Linked DNA regions of Homo sapiens: region 1 is linked to region 2. Evidence: promoter capture Hi-C in human tissues and cell types (Jung and others, 2019). All regions are on one chromosome and are shown on one strand. The core of a region is centred on a gene start or on the middle of the fragment in contact, and the rest is flanking DNA. Distances in the headings are between cores, read along the strand shown. Region 1 overlaps PRKCA (protein kinase C alpha). Region 2 holds the start of CACNG5 (calcium voltage-gated channel auxiliary subunit gamma 5).

Evidence for each region. The method cuts DNA at HindIII sites, captures the fragments that hold promoters and counts their contacts. A contact is called where the count stands out against the background at its distance.
Region 1: a contact is called between a fragment that was not itself captured here and the fragment with the promoter of CACNG5 in region 2, in 2 of the 25 tissues and cell types used here (H1 embryonic stem cells and mesendoderm cells).

Annotation. Positions count from the first base shown.
Region 1 is chr17:66,716,727-66,722,386 of GRCh38, forward strand. All of the region lies in intron 8 of PRKCA (protein kinase C alpha), which reads left to right. Among named protein-coding and RNA genes, the nearest start is that of MIR634, 68 kb to the right of the region's middle. RefSeq lists an enhancer at 5,510-5,660. The HindIII fragment of the contact is 6,574 bases long and covers 1-5,328 here.
Region 2 is chr17:66,833,103-66,838,115 of GRCh38, forward strand. CACNG5 (calcium voltage-gated channel auxiliary subunit gamma 5) reads left to right here and starts at 2,015. Exons shown (of 6, transcript NM_145811.3): 1 at 2,015-2,148. The HindIII fragment of the contact is 10,169 bases long and covers 1-5,013 here.

The DNA.
Region 1 (5,660 bases), core at 792-3,291, 120 kb before region 2:
ATGTGGTATGAAAAGAACCAAGCACTTCGCAGTTTCCACATCTGGCAAAGTGCCAACACGTCAGGGTCCCACGTTTCTCCTTGGAGAATGGCTCAGTTGCCATGACAACGGAGGCCCTCTCGCTGCCTGTGAATTTATTTTAACCGTGGCAACAGCCAAAGTGGGTGTGTCCATGAAAATATTTCTTGTTAAGAAAACGATTGAATGTGTTGCCCTTACATTTTGCTCTGCTGAATACATACTTCATTCACCACCATTGTATGGCTGCAAAATTTCCTTTTCCTGTGCTGCCTGGCATAGCAAGCATTGTGGAAGAGCCTGAATAGTGATTTAATTCTAGTGCTCTTGAGATTCTTAATTGTCGCTGTTGTGATAGATTAAGAAGATACAGACATTGTACTGAAATCTAACTGCAAATGAGGATGAGTGATTTGAGAACCTGCGTGATACAGGGCAAGGGTCATCGAACTGCAATCCACAGCCCAGACCCCAGCGGCTGCCTGTCTTCACCATTAAGGCTTTATTGGAACACCTTCCCTCCTTTACTCACTTTTGCAGCTTTCGAGCTACAATGGCAGAGTTGGAGAGTTACAACAGAGACAGTATTTGGCCCACAAAGCCACAAATATTTACTATCTGGACCTTTACAGAAAAAGTTTGCTCACCCTCGATGTAGGAGGAAGAGCACTAGGTTCAAAGGCTGGAGTTCTGGATTCAGAGCTCAGGATGGAAAACTGATTTAGACATATCGCGGTGCCCCCTGGGCTCATTCTCCTCATCTGTAACATGGGCAGCCTTGATGAGACTATCCCCAAGTTGCTTTTGAATTCTAAAAGCTCTGTCATCCTCCTGCTGTTAGTCAAAGATTACAGCCCAGATGGGGCAACCTTAGCACAGGGAAACGTACGGGATGATCCAGCATCTAGTTTCAGGGCCTCTGTAGAGAACAGAGCGTCCTTCTCTTCCTCCACCAGCACTGCCACGAAGCGGCGCAGAGGCTGTGGTGAAGTTAGCTCTCTAGACCTCAGCATCTTCATCTGCATCCTAGGCAGGTCAGACTCCCCAGGGACCCTTCTGTGGCTGACAGTCTGTGGTTCTGAGGCCCTCGCTGCAGTTGCCAGCAGGAGAAAGAATGACTCATGCCTGTGATTTGCTGGTCACCTGTGATTCCCGCCTCCGGGAGAAAACTCCAAGTAGCAGGTGTTGACCCAGTTGTGTGGGAGGAATCACCCAGGCCCTTATTTCCAGGTTGCACTTACAGATCGGATTGTGCAACCAGAAAAATGCCGTCAGAAGGAAGTGGGGTGGCTTGGGGGACTGACTTACTAAGGATCACTGTTAAGCTCTCCATACAAATTAGCTCCCCTTCTGTCTTAGTCCACTCGGGCTGCTATAGCAAAATACCATAAACTGCATGGCTTACAAACTGCATATGTTTCTCTCTCTTAGTTCTGAATGCTGGGAAGTCTAAAATCAAGGCAGGTGAGGTGTCTGGTGAAGGCTCACTTTCTGATTCACAGATGGCATCTTCTGGCTTTGCCCACACATGGTAGATGGGATGAGGAGCCTCTCAGGCCTCTTTTTATTAAAGTTTTTATTATTTAGAGACAGGGTCTCATTCTGATGCCCAGGCGGGAGTGCAGTGGCACAATCACTGTTCACTGCATCCTCGAATTCCTGGGCTCAAGCAATCCTCCTGCTTCAGCCTCCCGAGTAGCTAGGACTACAGGTGCACGCCACTGTGCCTGGCTAATTTTTAAAATTATTTTTTGTAGAGATGGGGGTCTCACTGTGTTGACTAGGCTGTTCTCAAACTCCCAGCCTCAAGCTATCTTTCTGCCTCAGCCTTTCAAAAATGCTGGGATTAGAGGCATCAGCCTGGGATCACACCCAGCTTCCAAGGCCTCTTTTATAAGGGCACTAATCCCATTCGTGAGGGATCCACCCTCATGACCTAGTCACCTTCCAAAGGCCCTGCCTCCTGACACCATCATCTTGGGGCTAAGGATTTCAACATGTGAATTTGAGGGAGACACATTCAAACCATAGCACCTTCCAAGACCACTTTCTGTGTTGTGGAAGAAAAGATGTGTTTTTGTTTTGACATCTGAACATAAAACACATATACACAGCCACATGTGAGAAAGAAGTACAGTTAAAAATTCCAACTGTGAATTTAGACACACAACCCAAAAGAAACCAAGAGCCTGCCTTCAGGAATTAGGCTGCCTTGACTCTGGGCTTCTTCCTCTTCTCTTTGACTATTCATGGTGAGATTAAAATGTCTGTCCTTGTGCAGCTGGGCACAAGGGTACTTGTTTGTGACCTCCCCAAAAAGGTCACAAACAAGTAATTAATGTTTCATTCATCCAGGAATCTATCCTGGGGACTTCAAGGATGCACACATATTTAGACCACAAAATTGTTCATCTGCATGTCATTGAAAACAGAACTAGGAAAAACCTAGGTGTCTAACAATAAGGAATGGTTACATCAGCTACAGTAGAGCCGTGTAGTAGGATATGATGCAGTCACTCAAATCATGTGGCAGAAGAGTGCTTATAACCAGAAGTTCACAATAAGCAAAGGGGAGAAGCAGGTTACAAACAATCTGATTCTATCTGTATCACATAGGAAATCATGAAAAGAAAGGATTAGGAAAATGTCCACCAGAATGTTATTAATGATTACCTCTGGGTAATAAAATTATAAGATTTTAGTATATATGCTGCCAAAATGAGTATAAAATTTTAGATGTTTTAGGCCAGCCGTGGTGGCTCACATCTGCAATCCCAGCACTTTGGCCGAGGTGGGTGGATCACTTGAGGTCAGGACCTCGAGACCAGCCTGGCCAACATGGTGAAACCCCGTCTCTACTAAAAATACAAAAATTAGCCAGGCATGGTGACATGTTCCTGTAATCCCAGCTACTCAGGAGGCTGAGGTGCGAGAATCGCTTGAACCCAGGAGGCAGAGGTTGCAGCAAGCCAAGATCACACCGCTGCACTCCTGTCTGGAAGATAGAGCGAGACTCCGTCTCAAAAATAAATAAAAATAAAATTATAGATGTTTTAAATTTTGTTCTCTTTTTTCTGATGTATCCATGCCTGTTAGATTTTCTAAAATGAGCAGGTATACTTTTACAACAAGAGGCAGCCTTGCTGTAGAAATTATTTTAAAGCAACATTTCTGCCTCTTAAAAATGTTATATGAAAAGCTGCCTTCCCCATATACTCTACTCATTGCTTCTGCAAATATTTGAGGACCACCATGCCCCAAACACCATCCTAGGCACTGGAGCTGTGCCGGGGAACAAAACAGACGAGCCGTGCGTGCTCATCCCAGTGGCCGAAGAAAGTAACAAACAAGTAGAGAAATACAGGATTGGTAATGAGAAGAGAGGGAGGGAGTATGCACCACAGAAACCGGTGCAGGGACAATGTCAGAAGGAGTAGGGAGCCTCGGGGCTAAAGCATCCTTTGAGCAGAGATAGAAGGGAGTCCCGTGCCTATCTGGGTCAGAGGAAGTGCCCAACTGCAAAGGCCCTCAGGCGGCAGCGTGCTTGGCGTGTCCCAGCAGATGAAGTATTGAGCCAGAGAACAGCGGACATTTTATTTACTCTAACTGTGCTACCCAGGAGGCTGTCATGCCCATTAAGTAGCATCATTTTAACCTGTTGCCCCGTTACCGAGTAGAAGATAATAGATATCATGACTTGGAGCTTATTAGAAATACACAGGCCATATTCCACTAACGATACCGTGAAAACCCTCAGTTCCTTTGTGGCTTTCTGCTTCGAAACACTTGATCTCTCTTAACTAACGTTGCAGTGGGTGCAGGTAAAGGCATTACCTTAGAGGTATGATGCTGTGCTGGGCATCCTTGGTTATATATGGCATGGCTATTTCTGTTAACCATGCCCTGTTACATGGAATAGCAATGAATCACCATCAGTGTTGTTTTGCCAGTGTTGTTCAGATTAGCTGTGAATACAGAGGACTTTCATCGTTGTACAAAAAATGGTAGGAGAAATCCACAATTATTCATTTGTTCCTATGGTTGGTCATCGTTGGCCTGTCCGTGGAATCTTAGAAGTAGAAAGAAGCTTCTGTTGTCATCTCTCCACACGTTGCAACTGTCTTTGATAAGTATATTACTCAAAGCCTTATTTTCGAGAATGCTAAGAGATCATGTATTTTTGAAGACATATTTACAAAATAGGTGAGAATGAACACATTTAAAGTGGAATGTAGTTACGTTACTGGAAAGAAGTCCCAATCCAGACCCCAAGAGAGAGTTCTTGAATTTCATGGAAGAAAGAATTTGGGGCAAGTCCACAGAGTAAAGTGAAAGCAAGTTTACTAAGAAAGTAAAGGAATAAAAGAATGGGCCGGGTGCAGTGGCTCACACCTGTAATCCCAGCACTTTGGGAGGCCGAGGCGGGCGGATCATGAGGTCAGGAGATCGAGACCATCCTGGCTAACATGGTGAAACCCCGTCTCTACTAAAAATACAAAAAAATTAGCCAGGCATGGTGGTGGGCACCTGTAGTCCCAGCTACTCAGGAGGCTGAGGCAGGAGAATGGCGTGTATCCGGAGGTGGAGCTTGCAGTGAGCCGAGATCGGGCCACTGCACTCCAGCCTGGGCAACAGAGCAAGATTCCGTCTCAAAAAAAAAAAAAAAAAAGAATGGCTACTCCATAGGCAGAGCAACCCCCAAGAGCTGCTGGTTGGCTATTTTTATGGTTATTTCTTGATCATATGCTTTAAAAGGTGTGGATTATTCATGAGTTTTCTGGGAAAGGGGCAGGCAATTCCCAGCACTGAGGGGTCCTTCCCTTTTTAGACCATACGGGGTAACCACTGGATGTTACCATGGCATTTATAGACCATCATGGCACTAGTGGGAGTGTCTTTTAGCATGCTAATGTATTATAATTAGCATATAATGAGCAGCAAGGAAGCCAGAGGGTCGCTTTCCTCGCCATCTTGATTTTGGCAGGTTTTGGCTGGCTTCATTACTGCATCCTGTTTTATCATGAGGGTCTTTATGGTCTGTACCTTCTGAGAACAGTCCTGCTGACCTCTTGTTTTATCCTGTAACTAAGAATGCCTGACCTCCCAGGAGTGCAAATGCAGCCCAACAGGTCTCAGCCTCATTTTACCCAGCTGCTATTCAAGATGGAGTTGCTCTGGTTTGAACACCTCTCACAATTAGACATTAAACAGTACTTCAGAGGCTGCCCAGGAGTTCTATGATGATGAGATGGACCCACCGGGAGCCCTGGAGTAATGGTTCAGTTTCTGATTCTTAACTGTAGATGAATCTTTGGACCTGTATTCATACTGGAGATAAATCAGCACCCCTTGTAAGAATTTCTGGACAGAGGGCTATTGTATTAGAGGTCAGAAATTTCTATTTTTATGGTCTGTCTGATTTTCCATATAGTGTATATTCATTATATAAAATTCAAACATAGCAGAGTGTCTATGGTATTAAGTTAAACCCTTTGAAATTGCTGTTAAGGTGGGTTAGACTGTCACACTGTCACAGCTTAGCAGCTGCAAACTTTTAACCTATTAGAAAATGAACGTCTCCAGCCATCCAGCCCCTCATAGATATACAATGTAAGTCATTTGTCACAACCACCCTCAATTTT
Region 2 (5,013 bases), core at 765-3,264:
TAAGTGCTGGGATCACAGGCATGAGCCACCGCGCCCGGCCACTAGCTTCCCTTTTGAAGGGTGTTTTCTGCAACCAATTGATCTGTTATTTCTCCATAAGCATTGCAAGATGATCCAGAGAATAGGGTCACACAGATCAAAAAGGGGGCCTATCTAGGGGGCAAGTGGACATTCTGGGATTGTTCAATTAACCCACAAGGGAGGACATTCCCTCTTCCACCCACCCCTTTCCTCACACCCAACACCAGGCAGTCTGCTCACCCCCACTCCATACACTTACTCTTCAATGGCTGGAGGACATGGCGACGGCCCGCAGAGGTGACCCACAGGGCATGGATCCCAGGCCAGCCTCTCTGGCCTTTGCTGGGAAAATGACCTGCAGACTTTGCAAAAGGCACATCTCCTGGGTGCTTTGCCCGTTTTCATCTTTTCATTTCATTGATCCAGCCACCTCTGAGGTTTTCTTTGGTGGTTTTCTCCTTGACAGCTTTAGTCTTGGGGAGATGTGTCCAACTTCCAGTCATTCATTCAGCAAATACAATGTGCCTACTATGCGTCAGACTTTCTCCTTTTAAGGGGCTCCCAGCATAGTTAGGGAGATTGACAGTAAATTCATCATTGCCATACTGGTGAGAGCTGTGCAAGAGGCTCCTGGGCCCAGAGACGAAGAAGAAGAAATCCATTCTTGGATTTCCATCAGGGTATTCTGGGGGATAGAGAAGAACACTCTTGGGGTAGGTGGGAAAAGGGAGAAAAAGCGGAAAACTGCATAGGCCTAAAATGCTGTGAATAGACACGTGGTGTATCCTTTCCAAAAACCTTCAGTTGTCCCAACTCCACCTGGCCCCATTCACATGTGACAAAGTCCTCCCATGTCAGGAGACCTCAGCAACATAGATGCTTCTATAAAAGTTTCTGCCCTACAGTTTTAAACTAATATGTTCACTGCTGATGTCTCATTATTTAGCAACCAACTTTGCCCCCAAATATTTCCACATGCCACATCTTTGACCCCCTCTTGGTCTGCAGGGATTTTACAGGCCTTTGAGGGGAAGCTGCTGGTCTGTGAGCATCTGCACAAGTGTGCCGGACAAAGATATCGGTCAGGCTGCCATTTCAAAGCAATAAAAGATATGTGGCTATGCAGGCCAGGAAGAGTTAGCCCTTGGGTTCCCCTTCCAACCTGGCTGACCACACTGGCTCCAGCTGCCACTTTCAAATTAGTCATAGATTAACAAACATCTATTGAGCACCTATTGGGTGTCCAGGACCCAGAGACTAAAGGAGACATAGAACCTAAGAAAGGAAGAAATGTTTTATTGTTAGTTGCCACCATTTATTGGACATATATTACCATTTTACTGTTAAGAGGGACAAACACTTTGCTTAAGGCCACACAGTACAAAAGCAGAGTGGGGCTTTAAAGGCTCAGATTCTGCACTTAGACAGGCCTGAGCTGCAGTCCTGGCTCTGCCATTTTCCAGCTGTGTGTCCTCAGACTCCTCACTTAAGCGCCCTGTGCCTCAGTCTTCTCATCTGTAAAATGGGATTCGTGTGAGAATTAAATGACTTAATACATGTGAAGCTCATTGAACGCTTACACTAGTAAGTGCTCAATAAATACTAGCTGGCATTGTTGTTCTATCACCATCATCATCATCATCATCATCATCATCATCCTTATTTAAAAGCAGCAGCAACGGCAGAGGCTGCAGCCCCAGCTGCTGGAATTTGAAGGTGAGTCTGACTCCAGGCAGGGTCTCCCAGCCCTATGCGGACTCTGAAAGCCTCTCCTCTCCCACGCCGGCCCCCAACTCTTCACCTGCCACCCCCACAAGGGTGCTCACCCCAGAGGTGCTCACCTCCCGGGCTGGGAGACCGCATCTGACCGGTCCCAAACCCCGCCTGCAGCTGGCAGCGCCGGGGTGGGGAGGCCCCGCCCTCGGCCCCGCCCCCTGCCCGCCCCTCCCTCTCGGGGTCCGGGGCGCGAGCTGCGGCGGCGGCGGCCACGGTCATTGGCGCCGAGCGGTTCCGGCTGACTGGACGGGGCGGGCGTCCCGGGCAGCCTAGCGCGGTACCTCCCGCCCCGCGCGCCCAGCCGGCGAGGGACATTGGACCAGGGTCGGGGGTCGCGGCCGCTCCAGCGAGGTAAGAGCCGGGAAGACCGGGAGAGACCACCTCTTCCATCCTGGGGGGGTCCCTGGGGGACGGTCTCCCACCGGTGCTGGGCCGCGGCGCCGGGCTGCGCCCCCATGACAGCCCAGCCAGGGGCAGGGGCTGGAGAGCCCTAGCGATCGCGCACCCTGGAAGGGGCAGTGTGGTGGGGAGCGCGGGCGTGTGTATGCGCGTGTGCGTGTGTCTGTCTGTCCATCTGTCTGTCCCAAGGATGTATCGGGGGAGATGATGACGCCCCCTCTTTGCAGTCGCTTCTAGGCAATTTACCCATGCCAAAGCTGAGGGCAGACTTTTCCACGACGGACTTGAATGGGGCTGGCAGATTATTATCCGGATAATGCAGGAAGGGATAAGCCCACCACCACCTGTTGAGCTGGGCTGTCGGCCTATGCGGGTCCAACTCCCCGCTTATCACAGCCTGCAGGGTGGCCTCATTTCTCCAGCTCGTGGGACCCGGGGCTTCCTTCTCCCGCCTGTGAGAAGGGTTGATAGGAGGAGGTGTCCCTGCCAGGAGCCACTGAGCAGAGATGGACTCGCGGGGGTGATCAGGGTGGTGCTATGGGGACCCCACCGCAGGTGCTGGGCGTGAGGTGTCAACCACCCAGGCACACCCCAAATTTGGATTTCCCCAATCACTCCAAAACCTCTCATTGTGATTCCCCGATCTTTGCTCTCATCCTAATTTGGCAGTTGATGAAGATGCAGCTCGTTAAAAATGTTAAAGTGAAATCAAATTATCACTTCCTAGGACTGAAAATGATTTGAGAAATAATTCCGGGAGCCTGGCTGGGGAGGAAAGAAGCTCATATTCTGACTAGCTTCTCCAGGGCTGCCCCGGGGCTGCCTCCGGTACCTGCCAGGCACGCCGGTGGTTAAGGAAGCCCTTGTTCCCAGAAAGGAAGGGATTCACCCACTTTGCACTGGATTATCAGTGACTGGGTTAGAGCAGGACCCAGGACAGGATCCCCAAGTGGGAGCTGTCTCAGTTTGACAGATGTCACATACAAGCTGTCACCGAGGCTGGCTTCTGCTCCACATCCATCCTGGGGAACACAAGATGGGGCTTCCCCTCCCAGCCACCTCACACCCATTCCCCTCATTTCCACAAACCTGAAGTCTTGATCAATTAACAGCCAGGATTGCCTGGGTGTGGGTGTGGGACCTTGATTGGCTCTGATGTCCTGGATTCAGAGTATCTCAGGACCACAGGCATCTCAGTGGCAGGTTGGTGGCACCTCTTTGCAGACCCTGTAGCCAGCCCCTCATGCCGAAGTCTCCTGCCTGCCTGAGAAGCCCTAGATCTGCCTCACTTCTCTGCTAACGCAGCCCCTGGAGGTAGCTGGGGGACACCTCATCTCAGGGCCAGGTCCCCAGGGTGCCTAACAGGGTGAAATCTGTGCTTGTGCCTGAGACCTCCCCACCCCCAAACCTCCTCTCTCTTGTCATGTGGAAGGCAGTGGATGTGCTGAGGGGCTGGGTAGTCCAGTTCAACGGAAGATAGAGGTGGCCCTGCTGTGGCTGGGGCTGTTGGTGATGTGAGAACCCCAGCATCCTGGCTGGCTGCACCCCAGGCCCCACAAGCCAACAGCACACTTGAGGGAGCTCAGCCATTCTCAGGCTTGTCAGCTGGGGCTCTGTGACTTGGTGCAGGGGGAGATTGGCTGAATTGTTCACGCTTGTTTGGAAGAGACTGGCCTTAGGTTGTTGTGGAAAACGTCGGCTCCAAACCCTGCTAGGTTCCTGACTGTGTGACACTGGCCAACTTACAGAATGCTTGGAGGCTCAGCCTCCTCACCTGTAAGATGGGTCTGGCAGGGGGTTTTGAGAATCAAGTAAGGTCATGAATGAATGACAGTGTCCATTTTACTGGAGGTGGTTCTGGGCTGGTGTTGTGGCCTCTGCTTTCTCTAGCCCCCAGCTTGACTCTCTGACATTGGACTTGAGGGAAGTGGCTGTGTAGCTAGGATCCCTCATGCCATCCTTAGAGGTGGGGGAAGAGGTGTGAATTTTAGTAGCAGGGTAGCTCACAGATTGAGCTTGGATTCCCAAAAAGTGAGGATGGAGGATGTAACCCAGTCTCCAGCAAACTCTGCCTCTGCAGGGAGCTGGCACTTCTGTCCCCAGCTTCTGCCCCGAGCCATTGGTGTCCTGGGCCCACCCCACACAGCCTTCTGGCTCACTGACACTTGGCACATGCCTGCTCTGTCATCTTCTTCTGAGTTTTGGGCCAGTCCTACTCCCTGGCAGAATTGGGACTAGCTACTTAAGACTTCAGGGGCACCAGGACAACCCCTGCCCACCAAATATCATCCTGTTCCCCCAAACCTAGCCATCTGATGCTTAATATCCCACCATTAGAGACTTATGACTGTGGTTCATAGTCTCATGTCAGTTACTAATCCTTAACATCAATGACTTGTTGAGAAGCTTTCAGGGCCTTGGAGAGGAGAGAAAGAGAAGGCAGAACAGAGAGGAGGGAAAGAGAAGCTTGGGGAGTGTAGGAGAGAGAACATTGTACTTTGCCAGCCTCATAGTTCTGCAGAGACAGGCCCAGCTGCTAAGCTCAAGAAGGCCCCAGGGAGAAGGAGAGGCTTGGGGCGAGGGGGAAGGGGCAGGCCTCAGGCAGAGAAAGTTGTGAATATCAAGTGGGAATTCTCGGTGTGAATACAGGGTGGGTGCCAGGCCTGTGTCTGGGTTGGGCTCCGGCAGCCTGTTCGAGAGGTGAAATAGTCCCTGATGCAAAAGCATCGTTTCTTTTCATGCTGCTCTACCCGCTGCTCAGAACACACCACGTGGGGTTTGGTGTGTTCTATGGGTGGTGCCCTCTGCATTAGAAGA